2 separate regions of the Homo sapiens genome follow, and region 1 is linked to region 2. The links are contacts of gene promoters, found by promoter capture Hi-C in blood cells and fetal thymus (Javierre and others, 2016). All regions are on one chromosome and are shown on one strand. The core of a region is centred on a gene start or on the middle of the fragment in contact, and the rest is flanking DNA. Distances in the headings are between cores, read along the strand shown.

Region 1 (4,868 bases), core at 1,987-4,486, 1.9 Mb before region 2:
CTTGAACCTGGTGGTGGAGATTGCAGTGAGCCAAGATCGTGGCACTGCACTCCAGCCTGGGCGACAGAGCGAGACTCCATCTCAAAAAAATAAAGAAATATATTTTGAGGTAAAATATTTTCCTTTCCTTCAGGGTCTGCTATCTGTCATGTGGTGCTATACAAGGGTCTGGTTGGAATTTGGTATCTTGTTGCCATAAAGAGTCTGTTTTGGCAGGGCGCGGGGGCTCACGCCTGTAATCCCAGTACTTTGGGAGGCCAAGGCAGGTGGATCACGAGGTCAAGAGATCGAGACCATCCTGGCCAACATGTTGAAACCCCATCTCTAGTAAAAATACAAAAATTATCTGGGCATGGTGGCGCACGCCTGTAGTCCCAGCTACTCGGGAGGCTGAGGCAGAAGAATCGCTTGAACCCAGGAGGCAGAGGTTGCAGTGAGCTGAGATCACGCCACTGCACTCCAGCCTGGCAACAGAGACTCTGTCTCAAAAAAAAAAAAAAAGTCTGTTTTGTCAGTCTCACGACCTCTATTTTAATGATGCTGGCCAGTGGTGCCTAAACTCCAAAAGGGAGAGGGGAGAACGAGACATGTCCAGCCTCCCTTCTTGTCATGGCCAGGAATGCTGTTTTTCAGGTTTCTCTGGGGTCCCCTTAGCCAAGAAGGGGTCTGTTCAGTCCACCAGGGGCTTAGGATTTTTATTTATTTATTTATTTTTTTAAAGCTTTTTTTTTTTTTTTTTTTTGAGACGGAGTTTCACTCGTCTCCCAGGCTGGAGTGCAATGGTGTGATCTCGGCTCATTGCAACCTCCACCTCCCGGGTTCAAGCAATTCTCCTGTCCCAGCCTCCCAAGTAGCTGGGATTACAGGTGCCCGCCACCACACCCAGCTAATTTTTGTATTTTTAGTAGAGACAGGGTTTCATCATATTGGTCAGGCTGGTCTCAAACTCCTGACCTCAGGTGACCTGCCCACCTTGGCCTCCCAAAGTACTGAGATTACAGGCGTGAGCCACCGTGCCTGGCCCTTAAAACTTTTTTGAGATAGGGTCTCACTCTGTCGCCAAGGCTGGAGTACAGTGGTGCAACCACAGCTCACTGCAGCCTTGACCTCTCGGGCTCAAGCATTGCTCCCACTTTAGCCTCCCAAGTAACTGGGACTTCAGGTACACACCATCATGCCTGGCTAATTTTTTGTATTTTTATTTAAAAAGGGGTTTTACCATGCTGCCCAGGCTGATCTTGAACTCCTGGGCTCAAGCAATCCACCCGCCTTGGCCTCCCAAAATGTTGGGATTACAGGCATGAGCCAACATGGCTGGCCAGGATTTTATTTTTGGTTTGCAACCTAAAAGGAAGAAGCTGAGGAAAAATTAATGTAAGTAGAGAGTTTATTTGGGCCAAGCTTGAGGGCTGCAACCCGGAGCATGCAAGTTGCCCTGAACATCCACTCCAGTTAGTAGCGGTTACTAGAGGATTTTTAAAGGAAAAGAAGGGGAGTTCCTGAATTGTTTACCAAAAATTTACATTAAAATAACAAGCTATTGATTGGCTATCCATTGTTTTTTATACACATATTCCAGGAACATGAAGACAATGGGTGGGGCAGCTAGACAGGAACAAAAAGACTTTTTTTTTTCCTTTGAGACGCAGTCTGTCTCTGTTGCCCAGGCTGGAGTGCAGTGGCGCAATCTCAGCTCACTGCAACCTCCGCCTCCCGGGCTCAAGCGATTCTCCTGCCTCAGCCTCCCCAGTAGCTGGGATTACAGGCACCCACCACTACGCCTGGTTAATTCTTTGTATTTTTAGTAGAGACAGGGTTTCACTATGTTGGCCAGGCTGGTCTCCAACTCCTGACCTCGTGATCCACCCGCCTCAGCCTCCCAAAGTGCTAGGATTACAGGTGTGAGCCACCTCGCCCAGCCCTGTCTTATTAATTTTAATAATTTGTCTGAGATTCTCCTGAATTTGTACTGTTAATTGAAAAAAGAACCCCACAATATCCATAAATACTCTGTTGCCCAGGCTGGAGTACAGTGATGCAATCATGACTCGCTGCGACCGCTGCCTCCTGGGCTCAAGCAACCCTCCTGCCTCAGCCTCCCAGGTAGCTGGGACTATAGGTGCCTTTCACCATGCCCAGGTACTTTTTGTAGAAATGGGGTTTTGCCATGTTGGCCAGGCTGGTCTTGAACTCCTGAGTTTAAGTGATCTGCCCGCCTTGGCCTCCCAAATTGCTGGGACTACAGGTGTGAGCCACTGCGCCTGGGTGACTTTCTTTCTCATAAAGGGTTACAGCCAGCAAGGTGGCCATCCCACAGGCTGGAAAATGTGCCTCTGAAGGAGGAGGGGTTGGGGCAGGAGCTCCATGCTGAACAGGTTGGCTAAACATACACATTCAACAGGTTATAGGAGGAGCTATGAATATTCATGAAGGTCCTGACAACATGCATACTGAACAAACATGCATGTAACATACAACTCATGTTCACCTTGGGGTGGAGACTTAGCATCAAAATGTACTAAAATTAGGCCTTATAGGCTGGGTGCAGTGGCTCGCGCCTGTAATCCCAGCACTTTGGGAGGCTGAGGTCTGGCCAATACGGTGAAACCCAGTCTCTACTAAAAATAAAAAAAAAACTAGCTGGGCACCGTGGTGCACACCTGTAGTCTTAGCTACTTGGGAGGCTGAGGCAGGAGAATCACTTGAACCCAGGAGGCGGAGGTTGCAGTGAGCCGAGATGGCACCACAGCACTCCAGCCTGGGCAATAGTGGGAGACTCCGTCTCAAATAAATAAAAATATATACATACATAAAATAAAATTAGGCCTTATAGTAAAAAGGTCTTTCCAGGACACAAAAGCACACAAGTATGCAGCCTCTCTGAACCAGCCGGAACCAATCCATAGTCAGTGGTCTTACCTGGAGAAAGTTGCTGAAATCAGTCTCTTGTTCAATGAAAGCTGTAGTTGGCTGGGCATAGTGGCTCACACCTGTAGTCCCAGCACTTTGGGAGGCCACGATGGGAGGATTGTTTAAGCCCAGGAATTTGAGATCAGCCTAGGCAACATGGCAAAACCCCATCTCTACCAAAAATACAAAAAGTAGCTGGGTGCAAACTCCACCTCCCGGGTGGACCTACTGGTACACCTAGTGGTGCACACCTGTAGGCCCAGCTACTTGGGAGGCTGAGGTGGGAGGATTGCTTGAGGCTGGGAGGTTGAAGCTGCACTCAGCCAGGATTGCACCACTGCACTCTAGCCTGGAGGACAGAGTGAGACGCTGTTTCAAAAGAAGAGAAAGCTAGTTATGGTGGGTGAATGGGGTCAGTTAGCATCTGGAGCTGGATGAGCTGCAAATCGTTTTAACATTGTTTATCTTGAGGTCAGTACTTACTTAGCTGCTAGAGAAAAGGAACAACCTCGTGGCAGTGAGAATAGAGTTTATTCTTTAATTGTAGAGGTGTAGGACTTAACTTGTGCCTGGCATGGCCCTAAATCTTATTAATTAATTAATTTATTTATTTTTGGAATCAGAGTCTCACTTTGTCACCCAGACTGGAGTGCAGTTGTGCCATCTTGGCTCACTGCAACCTCCACCTCCTGGGTTCAAGTGGTTTTCCTGCCTCAGCCTCCCAAGTAGCTGGGATTACAGGCATGCGCCACTATGTCCAGCTAATTTTTGTATTTTTTGTAGAGATGGGGGTTCACCATGTTGGCCAGGCTGGTCTCGAACTCTCAGCCTCAAGTGATCTGCCCGCCTTGGACTCTCAAAGTGCTGGGATTACAGATGTGAGTCACCATGCCCAGCCACAGGTCTTATTTATAATTTGGTATGTTATCGCCATAAAGAGTCTGTTTTTCAGTCTTCTATGTTTTCAGTCTTACATATTTTAACGCAAATGCTAGTGCCTTGTCTCTAAGTCACCAAAGGGAGGAGTTATAACGACATGAGTGGGCTCTCCTATCCCATCGTGGCTGGGAACTCAGTTTTAAGTTTTTTCTGAGGTCCCCTTGGCCAAGAGGGGATCCGTTCAGTCAGTGAGGAGTTTAGGATTTTATTTTTAGTTTATATTCCCTTCTTTTGGCCAAGATTTGCCAGAGATGGCATTGATGACCAAACTTTTATTTTGTCCTATATCGTTGCTGGGGCTGTGTGCTACCTGCACTGGGTCCATCTTGTCCCTTGGTGGGATCCCTATGGCCAAGAGACTTAGAGCCAAAAGACTGAAAGACAGCTAATTAAATGTTTTAGGACAGATAGGAAAGGAGATGGGCAGGCACTCATTCACCCTTAAAAACCTTTTGTGCAGCCAGGTGCGGTGGCTTATGCCTGTAATCCTAGCACTTTGGGAGTCTGAGGCGGGTGGATCACGAGGTCAGGAGTTTGAGACCAGCCTGATCAACATAGTGAAACCCTGTCTCCACTAAAAATACAAAATGAGCCAGGCATGGTGGCACATGCCTGTAACCCTAGCTACTCGGGAGGCTGAGGCAGGAGAATCACTTGAACCTGGGAGGCGGAGGTTGCAGTGAGCTGAGATTGCACCATTGTACTCCGGTCTGGGCGACAGAGCGAGATTCCATCTCAAAAAAATCAAAATAAAACAAACAACAACAACAACAAAAAACAACCTTTTGTGCAACATAAGAGGCAAAAACCAAAATCCAAAACGTGAGGTTACAAAATTGACTTATCTCTAAGTTTTATGTATTGAGCTATCAGCTATTTAGGTATTTGTGAACCATCTTTGATTCAGAGGGTCTGAACAAATTTTATCCCTCGAAACCAGCCCTTACAATCTCATGCGTTTACCTCTTCTGCAATTGTCCCTGGGCCTAGAGGGAGGGTGTTTGATATCAAATCAGATT
Region 2 (4,562 bases), core at 586-3,085:
GTGTAAGCACATGCGGCAAAATACAAAGAAAAGCAAAACAGTGACTAACACAAGGTGTGAGGCAGGTGAGCCCACGCAGCCGGCAGTGACTGCAAGATACCCAGGCGTCCGCTCTCGGGCTGTTCTTTGCACCTGACTCAAGTTTCATACCTACATCTTACCAATTCCGTTCTCAAAAACTCATGTGAAGTCTTGGATGTAGCAGTGTTTCTTCCTCATTACAACACAGAAACTAAGGTTCCACTGAGCCAGTAAACAAGAACTGTAAAACTGAAAACTGTCAAAGGAAAAACTCTTTCCCAATTACTACTTACACAGTACAAAAACCAGTTTGAAATAAGGCGAGTTATTTAATCCCTAAAACTTACAAAACGCGTTTGTCCTTATGACTAACTCGAGTCTAGCTGGGGCACAGGCCACTGTCAAACAGGGCAACGCCTACTCAGCGTTTTCCAAACTGGTCAACTGAACTCTTCTCTGGAAGGGCTGTCTCCTTTAGTCTTACTCTAAAAAGGGTAATTTTTCACCAGAATAAAGGCAAATATTTTAAGAATGCTTCAAATGAAAAGAGGATTGCAGAAATATTAACCTTTAATTGTACCTGAAACAAAGCACCTGAAATTAATAAAGAAGTCAGCCACTGACGAGAATCACTAGGTCTGTCCTGTTCCCAGGGCACGAAACAGAAGCGTCTTAATCCACTAAGCACATTAGGGCCTAACAAACTGGACTGAGTAACAAGGTTACCTAGTTCTTCCAAACAGGAATTAACCAAAGGGGATCATTATGATTAAGCACAATGCGCGGAATACGCAATTTCTAGTTGGGGAATTCAACAGCTGACAGCTTGTAAGCATCAAAATTCATAACAAGTGCAAGGCTCGGAATCACAGGTCCAGCACTGGACGATGCCCGGCGCGCCGGGAAGCGGCGCCTCAGACGGCGGCCCCGCGTCCCCATGGTCCCTCCCTGCGCCCAGAACCGGGCAGCTCCTTCCCGCCGCCGCCGCCGCCAACGGGAGGCTGGGGGCACTCCCGAAATAGGAGCGGAAGCCCCGACCCACGCCGCCCTCCGCCGCAGGGACGCCCACTCGCCAGGTGACCGCGTCCCCACGCTCCGCGTTGCCCGGGCGCCGCCAGGACCTCGGAGGCGGCCGGCCCAGCCCCGACCCTGTGCGGACGCGGCACAAAGGCGCGGCGCGCGGACCCCGACCCGGCCGGACCCCGGCCGCGTCCCCCGGCCCCGGCCCGCGCCCCTGGCCCCCGCCCCGCGCCCCTCACCCGGCCCACCTCGGCCGTAGGCCTTGGCGCAGATCCACTGCAGGTTGGCGGCGATCTTGGCGCGCGCCGCGTCGTAGCGGTCCAGGGGCACGAGGTCGGCGGCGCCGTCCGGCGGGGCCTCCATCTTCCTCCAGCCCTCGGCGGCGGCGCGGCCGCTCGCGTCCACCATCTGCAGACAAAGGGCTGAGGCGGCGGCCCGGCCGCAACAAAGGCGCCGCCGCCCCTCGCCGCGCCGGGCCCGGTGCGCCCCGAGCCACCACTCGGCCCCGCAGCCGGCCAGCCGGGAGGGGCGCCCGAGCGCGGCCCCCGCCTCACCTCACAGCCGCCGCCGTCGCCGCCCCCGCGGCTGCTGCATGCTGCGGGCGCTGAGCCCGAGCGGAGGAGGTGCCGAGCCCGCGGCCCAAAGAGGCGGCGGCAGGAGGGCGCGGGCCGGGGGCGGGGGCGGGCGCGGGGGCGGGAGCGGGCCGGGGGCGGTGGCAGCGCGTGCGCGGTCCCGGGTGAGCGGCGGCGGCGGCGACAGCGGCTGAGGCGGTGGCCAAGGAGCGGGAGCGCGCTCACCGCCGGGGCCTCGCACAGGCGCAGTAGGCACCGCCCGCCACCCCGCCCTCGACCCCGCCCCCAGCTCCGCTCCCTTCTCGCGCCTGCCCCGCCCCTTTCCGCAGGCGCAGTAGGCACCGCCCGCCAGCCCGCGCCCGCCCCGCCCCTTTCCGCAGGCGCAGTAGGTGGCACCCGCAGGCCTGTGCCTGCCCCGCCCCTTTCCGCAGGCGCAGTGAGCGTCGACCCGCCCCTCCCCGCCCGCTTCCGCAGGCGCAGTAGGACCCGCCCTGGTCCGCGCCTGCCCCGTTGCTTTCCTCAGGCTCTAAGGCCCGCGGTGTGGAGCGCGGCGTAGGCAGCGGGGAGTGGGCGGCGCGGGGTGGGTGGAGTGGGTCGGCGGCGGGGATCCTGCCGAGCCCGCAGCTGCCCTCTTTTAGCGCCGTGTCTCCTCCCCGGCCCTGGCTCGTCCCACCTCAGCCACAGCCCGGCCCCCTGGCCGGCCGAGGTCTCGCCGCCGGCGCCCTGGGGACCTCGTGGGTGTGGCCGGCGGCGACCTCGGCAGGCGACAGCCCAGCAGACGGGCACCAGGTGGACGTGCCAGTCTCCAGACCCCCGTCCCGGTGCAGGGAAGGTGGGCGTTTGGACCCCTGAGGCAGAAACAGGTGCGGCCCCGCCGGCGCATCCCCCGGAAGGGACGCTGACTTCGTTCCCCTGGAGCCTGCGTCGGGGCCCGCGCTGGGCTGAGAATTACGGGAACGCCGTGAGAGTTTGCATTCCGAGGATTTGGTCTGAGAACCTCACCAGCGAAATAGAGAACTGCCCCCGGGAGAGCCGGCCCACGTGCCGCCCACCGGCGCCTTGACGGCAGGGAGAGGTCGAGCTTCCAGGGAGCGGGCGCCCGGCGCGGGGCTCCCAGCCTGTCTGTACCTGGTCGAGACACCCCGTGCCAGAGGCGGAACATGTATGAAATGCCAGGTGCCCAGAGGACCCAGGCAGTCCGTCATTCACATACCAACCCACGTGCAGGCTTCAATTCAACCTTGAAGCCATTTGGGCCTGGGCTTTTTTGATGACTTATTTGATTCATAGTTTTTTGGTTACTAATTGAGTCTCTTCACTTGTTATAGGTCTGTTGAGATTGTCTATTTTTTCTTGAGTCAGCCGTCTGAAAAGAACACGAGGTGGACAGGGCAGAGCGGTCAAGGAAAGCCATAGGAGGAGGGCACTTATTTGAGCAAAGACCGGCGGGACGTGGGCGTCGAGGGTAAGGATATCTGCAGAAGTACTGTCTTGAGCAAGGAGCACGGCAGACAGAGCCTCTGAGACACGAGAGCCTGGAGTGTAAGAAACACAGTAGAGGCCACTAAGTCGAGAACGCAGGAGCTGGAAGGACTGGTAGGAAATGGGAGGTGGGGACATGGAGGGATGCAGACAGGTCCTGCACAGTCAGAACTGTGGCCCCTTCTCTGCAGGAAATGGGCAGCCTTCGGAAGACTGAGCACACGGAAGGATATGACTAACCCTTTAAAAGGGTCATTCTGACTCCTGGGTGAAGAACAGACTAGGAAGGGCTGAGGAGGAGGCAGGAGGCCATCTACTGTTATATGGGATGTGGAGTGTGACCCGGAAAGGTCAAGTGTGACTCTAAGGGCTTTTTGTGTACTGATCTTTTATCCTGCAACCTTGCTAAACCCATTTATTAGTTCTTCTTGTCTTTTAGTGGCATTTATTAGTTGTTCTAGTGTTTTAGTGGATTCCTTGGGATTTTATACAAAAGCGTGTCATTTGTGAATAGAGATCAGTTTATCTCTTCCTTTCTAATCTGGATGCCTTTTATTTCTTCTCCTTGCCTAGCTGCCCTATCTAGAAGCTCCAGTACAATATTGACTAGAAGCAGCAAGAGTGGACATCCTTGTCTTGCTCCTGATTTCAGGGAGGAGGCATCCAGTCTTTCACCTTTGGGTATGATGATAGCTGTGGGTGCTTAAAAAATAGGTTTTATCAGGCTGGGCACAGTGGCTCACGCCTGTAATCCCAACCCTTTGGGAGGTCGAGGCGGGCGGATCACGTGGGGTCCAGAGTTTGAGACCAGCCTGGCCAACATGGAGAAATCCCATCTCTACTAAAAATACAAAAAGTTAGCTGAGGTTGGTGGCCGGTGCCTGTAATCCCAGCTAAAAAAGGGAAACTGTCTAAAAATCATTAAAAAAAAGGGTACTTCCTCAACCTGATAAAACCTATTTTTTGTTTGTTTGAGATAGTGTCTCACTCTGTCACCCAGGCTGGAGTACAGTGGCTGGATCTTGGCTCACTGCAACCTCTGCCTCCCAGGTTCAAGCGATTTTCCTGCCTCAGCCTCCTGAGTAGCTGGGATTGCAGGCACAGGCCGCCACGCCCAGCTAGTTTTGTATTTTTAGTAGAGATGGGGTTTTACCATGTTGGCCAGGCTGGTCTTGAACTCCTGACCTCCAGTAATCCACCCCCCTGGGCCTCCCAAAATGCTGGGATTATAGGCGTGAGCTACCACGCCCAGCCGAGGAAGTATCTTCTATTTCTAGTTTGTTGAGTGTGTTTATCATGAAAACGTGTCAGATTTGGTTAAATGATTTTTCCACATCCATTGAGATGATGATCATGGGTTTTTTTCCTTGTTCTAGTAATGTGGTGTGTTACATTAATTGACTTTCAGATATTGAAAAGACACTTATCCCCTGCGTTCAGATAAATTCCAGTTGGTCATGGAGTATC

Evidence for each region. The method cuts DNA at HindIII sites, captures the fragments that hold promoters and counts their contacts. A CHiCAGO score of 5 or more calls a contact.
Region 1: a contact is called between a fragment that was not itself captured here and the fragment with the promoter of CAMSAP1 in region 2, in 1 of 17 cell types (neutrophils). The highest score is 5.7, in neutrophils.

What each region holds. Positions count from the first base shown.
Region 1 is chr9:134,018,366-134,023,233 of GRCh38, forward strand. No RefSeq gene overlaps it. Among named protein-coding and RNA genes, the nearest start is that of BRD3OS, 4.7 kb to the right of the region's middle. The HindIII fragment of the contact is 3,675 bases long and covers 1,400-4,868 here.
Region 2 is chr9:135,905,711-135,910,272 of GRCh38, forward strand. CAMSAP1 (calmodulin regulated spectrin associated protein 1) reads right to left here and starts at 1,836. Exons shown (of 17, transcript NM_015447.4): 1 at 1,290-1,836. The coding sequence starts at 1,449. CAMSAP1-DT (CAMSAP1 divergent transcript) reads left to right here and starts at 2,123. Exons shown (of 2, transcript XR_007061860.1): 1 at 2,123-3,209. RefSeq lists an enhancer at 1-328 and silencers at 975-1,024, 1,425-1,494, 1,575-1,684, 1,725-2,404. The HindIII fragment of the contact is 15,122 bases long and covers 1-4,562 here.